2 separate regions of the Homo sapiens genome follow, and region 1 is linked to region 2. The links are contacts of gene promoters, found by promoter capture Hi-C in blood cells and fetal thymus (Javierre and others, 2016). All regions are on one chromosome and are shown on one strand. The core of a region is centred on a gene start or on the middle of the fragment in contact, and the rest is flanking DNA. Distances in the headings are between cores, read along the strand shown. Region 1 overlaps NOP58 (NOP58 ribonucleoprotein). Region 2 holds the start of ORC2 (origin recognition complex subunit 2).

What was found. Contacts are between HindIII fragments. The CHiCAGO score rates a contact against its expected background, and 5 or more counts as called.
Region 1: a fragment that was not itself captured here is called in contact with the fragment with the promoter of ORC2 in region 2 in 1 of 17 cell types (total CD8 T cells); the score reaches 7.9 in total CD8 T cells.

Annotation. Positions count from the first base shown.
Region 1 is chr2:202,284,959-202,287,734 of GRCh38, reverse strand. It overlaps NOP58 (NOP58 ribonucleoprotein), which reads right to left. Exons shown (of 15, transcript NM_015934.5): 6 at 11-75. Among named protein-coding and RNA genes, the nearest start is that of SNORD11B, 5.0 kb to the left of the region's middle. The HindIII fragment of the contact is 1,283 bases long and covers 713-1,995 here.
Region 2 is chr2:200,962,072-200,965,042 of GRCh38, reverse strand. ORC2 (origin recognition complex subunit 2) reads left to right here and starts at 1,383. Exons shown (of 18, transcript NM_006190.5): 1 at 1,383-1,553. LOC105373835 (a long non-coding RNA gene) reads right to left here and starts at 1,611. Exons shown (of 3, transcript NR_187976.1): 1 at 1,413-1,611. RefSeq lists a silencer at 974-1,372 and an enhancer at 2,081-2,150. The HindIII fragment of the contact is 10,169 bases long and covers 1-2,971 here.

The DNA.
Region 1 (2,776 bases), core at 105-2,604, 1.3 Mb before region 2:
CTATACTTACAAATTGCCTGAACAATCATTGTGTCTACTTTATCAGCGCTAAACTTCAATCTATATCGAGACAGGCTGGGAAGAAAGGGGAAAATAAATTAGCAAGATAGCATCTAGGAAAAGCATTTAAATTAACACCTTAAAGTTTTTTTTTGTTTTTGTTTTTACTCAAATCAGCCTGTAGTCAGAGCTGTAATTGGTTTTTCTAAGAAGAAAAATCAGCTAAGTAGAAATGCACCATACGAGAACAGAAAATACACATTAAAAAAAAAAACTATATGTGCTGCTACGACCTTTATTTCTGTAACATGAATGAGTTTATGTATGAATGACAAATAGGATAAGCTGTGTAATACAAAAGTCATATTGGACTGGGCGTGGTGGCTCACGCTTGTAATCCTAGCACTTTGGGAGGCCGAGGTGGGCAGATCACCTGTTAGGAGTTCGAGACCAACCTGGCCAACATGGCGAAACCCTGTCTCTACTAAAAATATAAAAATTAGCCAGGCATGGTGGGGCACGCCTGAATCTCAGCTACTCTGGAGGCTGAGGCAGGAGAATCGCTTGAACCGGGGAGGCAGAGGTTGCAGTGAGCCGAGATCACGTGCCACTGTACTCCAGCCTGGGCAACAAAGCAAGACTCCGCCTCAAAAAAAAAAAAAAAAAAAAAGCCATATTGGTTCATGCAATTTTTAATAGCACATATTAAGCTTTATACTACCAGTTAGGAACTTTGCAGGACTCTTAACATCTGAAAACAGAAAGCTGTGGAGTAACAATATTGTCTGTATAAAAATGTTTTTTCATCTCAGCACAATTAATATTTTGGGCCTAATTCCTTGTTGTACAGGCTGCCCTGTGCATTATAGGACCTTTAGCAGTATCCCTAACTTTTATCCACCAGATACTCATGGCAGACCCCAACCCACCTCCAATTGTGACAACCAAAAATGTCTATGGACATAGACAAATGCCTACTGGGGGGACATCTGATTGCCCTTGATAGGGAACCACTGCTATACACAATGCAGATTTACCCAGGTTTGGATTTTTGACTCAGTTTCACTATTTGTTCTCTCTTAGAAATGCTTATTACAAAGCTCTCCCTAACCTTTGTGCATTTTTGCTCTTAACTCTAGCTTAGCAGCTTCAACCCTTTCAATCTATGCCCACCTTTTAATTTTAAAATAGACCTTTTTAAATTGTAGTGTTTCTTTTTTGTTTTGTTTTGAGACGGAGTCTTACTCTGTCACCCAGGCTGGAGTGCAGTGGAGCAATCTCCACTCACTGCAAGCTCCACCTCCCGGGTTCACGCCATTCTCCTGCCTCAGCCTCCCGAGTAGCTGGGACTACAGGCGCCCGCCACCATGCCTGGCTAATTTTTTTGTATTTTTAGTAGAGACGGGGTTTCACTGTGTTAACCAGGATGGTCTCGATCTCCTGACCTCATGATTCACCTGCCTCAGCCTCGCAAAGTGCTGGGATGTATTACAGGCGTGAGCCACTGCGCCTGGCCTATAGTGTTTCTTTCTCCCTTTTTTTTTTTTTTTTTTGAGATGGAGTCTCACTCTGTCACCCAGGCTGGACTGCAGTGGAGCGATCTCCACTCACTGCAAGCTCTGCCTCCCGGGTTCACGCCATTCTCCTGCCTCAGCCTCCCAAGTAGCTGGGACTACAGGCGCCCGCCACTGTGCCCGGCTAATTTTTTGTATTTTTAGTAGAGACGAGGTTTCACCGTGGTCTCGATCTCCTGACCTTGTGATCTGCCTGCCTTGGCCTCCCAAAGTGTTGGGATTACAGGCGTGAGCCACCGTGCCCAGCCTGTAGTGTTTCTTTTAATATTAGCTTAAAATGTCTTTTGAACTGTGGTAATAATTTTATTAGGATTACTATTTGACAGTACTGATTACAAAGTTGCACAGGTTTTGAGCAACTACCTACCATTATTTTCTTCACAACCCTGTTAACTGTAGTGCAATTCCAAAGTATTAAGCTTTTCATGAACAGATGTATCACAACATAGCAATAATGCCTATTCTAAGGGACTTCTAATGAAATATGATAGGGTTAACATGCAATTAAAAATAGGGAGAAGACTGGGCATGGTGGCTCACCCCTGCAGTCGCGGCACTTTGGGAGGCTAAGGCAAGTGGATCACTTGAGCCTGGGAGTTCCAGCCTGGGCAGCATGGCAAAACCCCGTCTCTACAAAAAGTTAAAAAATCAGCCAGGGATGGTGGCGCACACTTGCAGTCCCAGCTACTTGGGAGGCTGAGGTGGCATTGTTTGAGTCCAGGATGTCCAGGTTGCAGTGAGCCAAGATCGCACCACTGCACCCCAGCCTGAGCAACAGAGTGAGACCCTGACTCAAAAAAAAAAAAAAAAAAAAAAAAATGCCGGGTGTGGTGGCTCATGCCTATAATCCCAGCACTTTGGAAGGCCAAGGCGGATGGATCATTTGAGGTCAGGAGTTCAAGATCAGCCAGGCCAACATGGTGAAAGCCCGTCTCTACTAAAAATACAAAAATTAGTTGGGCAGTAGTGGTGCACGCTTGTAATCCTAGCTACTCGGAGGCTGAGGCAAGAAAATCACTTGAGCCTGGGAGGCAGGGGCTGCAGTGAGCAGAGATCACGCCACTGCACTCCAGTCTGGGCGACAGAGTGAGAATCTGCCTCAAAAAAAACAAAACAAAAACAAAACAAACAAAAAAACACAGAGAGAGACATATTTCTTGCTATGTTGCTCAGGCTAGTCTCAAACTCCTGGTCTCCCAAAG
Region 2 (2,971 bases), core at 134-2,633:
AGATCTTTCAATACAAATCTGACCAGTGCCCTAAGGGCCAACTAAGCCCTTCATAATAACAGACCCAATGCTTGGCATTTTACACAGCTGTTACACGGATTTGGACCTTCTACCTGGAAAATTTTACCCCTCTTGGCCTGTTTTAAATCTATTCAACACAGGGGTTTCAGTTTAAACATCTCTTCCTCCTAGAAAATTGTTCCTGACTCCTTCTGGGCTTTTAATTAGCTACTCCTACCATGTGCTCCAATGCACTTCCCATATCATGGTATTTTTCTCAATATTGTCCGTTCAATATCTTCACGTGCTAGGTAACTACAGTGAATGCAGAGATCGTAGTTGTCTCGCTCGATAATGAATACTTATCTTCTGTTCGCAGAGTACTCTGTAGTTTTGTTTTGAGTAAGTGAATCCAAATGAAACAATACCCTGTTCTTAATACTGTATGGATCCCATCCAGGTTCATTCCTTTTCTTCCTCATTTTCTCTGTCTTGTCTTTTTTATATTTTGGATAGTTGAAGTCAATCATTTTCTCTGTCTATTCATTCTATTTCCCCAGCCTCTTCATCCCACTAGCCGTCCGATCCCATCTCCATATTCAGTGCTTCTCCTAACGTCTCTTCTTCTCCCTACCCCAAACCCTGGAGATGTACAAGATCCTACCTTTCACGCCAAATGAAGAAAATCTTTAAAAAAGAAATGCGAATCAATTTCCATTACCTTTTTCTTCAAAAGGTAGCTGGGAAACCAATGAACACTTTTTTTTTTTTTTTTTTTTTTTTTTGAGACGGAGTTTCGCTCTTGTTGCCCAGGCTGGAATGCAATGGCTCGATCTCGGCTCACTGCAACGTCCGCCTCCCGGGTTCAAGCGTTTCTCCTGCCTCAGCCTCCCGAGTAGCTAGTATTACAGGCATGCGCCACCACGCCCGGCTAATTTTGTATTTTTAGGAGAGACGGGGTTTCTCCATGTCGGTCAGACTGGTCTCGAGCTCCCGACCTCAGGTGATTCGCCCGCCTCGGCCTCCCAAGGTGCTGGGATTAGAGGCGTGAGACACTGCGCCCGACCCCAAAGAACACTTTTTAAAGATTGCTACAAGACAAACAGCTACCACTCAGCCAGCTACTGTGCAAACTTCCTCAGATCCAAACAACACTTCCTTTTCCCTTCCCCGGAAACGGAAAGAAGAAAGGAAAGGTAAGGCCCACAACTCAGGGCCCAAGAATCCGTTTTCCTCAGGTTTCCTGATGGGCGGGGCCGAATGGCCGGCGCCGACTGGACGGCAGAGCCGTCGCTCTTGGCCGACTCCTCTTCCTATTGGCTTCCTCGGGCACCGCCCCCTGAACAGGGCGGGAGATTCGGTGTGCCGCACGCAGGCTTCCCATCCCCCAGCTGGCCTCCGGTGCTCCTTACCTCCCCGGTGGTCGGGCGCGAATTACTGGAAATTGGCTTTTCCCGTTGGGGCCGAAGGTACCTTCCCTGCGGCGGCGACTCAGCGGGGTGTCGTTCGGCCGGCGTGACGCAGCCGGATCGGCGCCAGACGGAAACCTAGCGGTGAGTAGTGGGGTGTCGGGGCAGCCTGCCTCCCTTTTCTGCTTAGCTCGCGGCGTGTGAGGTGCGTCCAGGTGCACCCAGCCCCGCGTCGGAGCTTGGCCCCTAGCGTCCCAAGTCGCGCATCTCAGGACTTTCCCTCGGCACTTGGGGCATGGTCTTTGCGCCTCGCTGCCCCCCGCAGGCTGCCCGGGGGCTCGAGAACCCTTACTGGTGGAGCGCAGCCAACTGGCCAGAGGCTGGAGGCGCAGGCCAAAGTCCTTTAAGACTTGAGGTGAGAGGCTCACTCTGGGAGGACCTTTCGTTAGTCTGCCCCGCAGTTATAGGCCTTTTGTGCAAGGGACGCCTGATACTAACCTACCTGATTCCCAGCTTACGAAGCCCTCTGGTTGGAAAAGGAGAACTGTGAAGATGTGTAACGACAGTGGTAAAGTGCCCTGTGAGGTATGAAGAGGAAGAGATCGCGTCCCAGAACCACTGTAGCTAGAACCTTTGATGTCATCCCAGCCTGGAGGCACCAATGTGTCCTGCCAGCTAACTGATCGGTCACCTTGGAGCCATGCTTGGCTGTAAAATGTTGATAAGCCAGGCTCTTTTGGTAGAGCTTTTTAATTAAAAAGATGTTGAGACGTTACTTTTCATTTTACAATTGAAATCCTAATAGAATCATTACACTTTCCCGCAGTTAAATTGCAATCTGAAGAAAAATAGCACGGCCCTACACCGTTATATAAGGGCACTGCACGTTAAACGGACATCATCACTTATTGAGCAGTTTTTCTGTTAGATGTTGAATGAGTTAGAGATGTACAAGAGATCTGCATGGTTAAGTTGAAGTTTAAAGTAAAAATATCTCAGTGCACTGCAGTAAGGAGCTAAAAAAGAAAAAGGTTAAAGTAAAAATACCGATAATTGGGAGCATTCAGTGATGCTCTTTTATATATCAGGCACATCATTTCATTTAATCGTCAGGACTTTGGACAAAGTCACACAGTTATAAAGTATGGAGTGGAGATTGGAACTCAGGTTTCTCCAATATTAAAATTGGTGTTTAACCACTAATCTATCCAACCTTCTTTTTCAAAGGATTATGTTTTTAAAAATTACAGCAAATCTTTTATTTGTTTTCAAAGGAGAGTGTGTTGCTACCACTTGGTGCAATGCTAACACTTGGTGCTGCAGAATTGCCTTGAAGTAACTCCTTGAAAGGGGTTGGCCTATAAGCACCAAGGCAGTGCCTTGAGGGGTCATAATGGTCACTAAATATTGCATTTTATTGTGTGATTGTTAGGTTTTTTTGTTCGTTTGTTTTTCAGGAACTGTTGGAAAGCAAAGAAGGAAACGTTTCTCATGAGGTCTTTGTAGACATTTTCTTTAATTTGGTGATTTTGTACTATTTAATAAGATGCTCCAAAATTAGA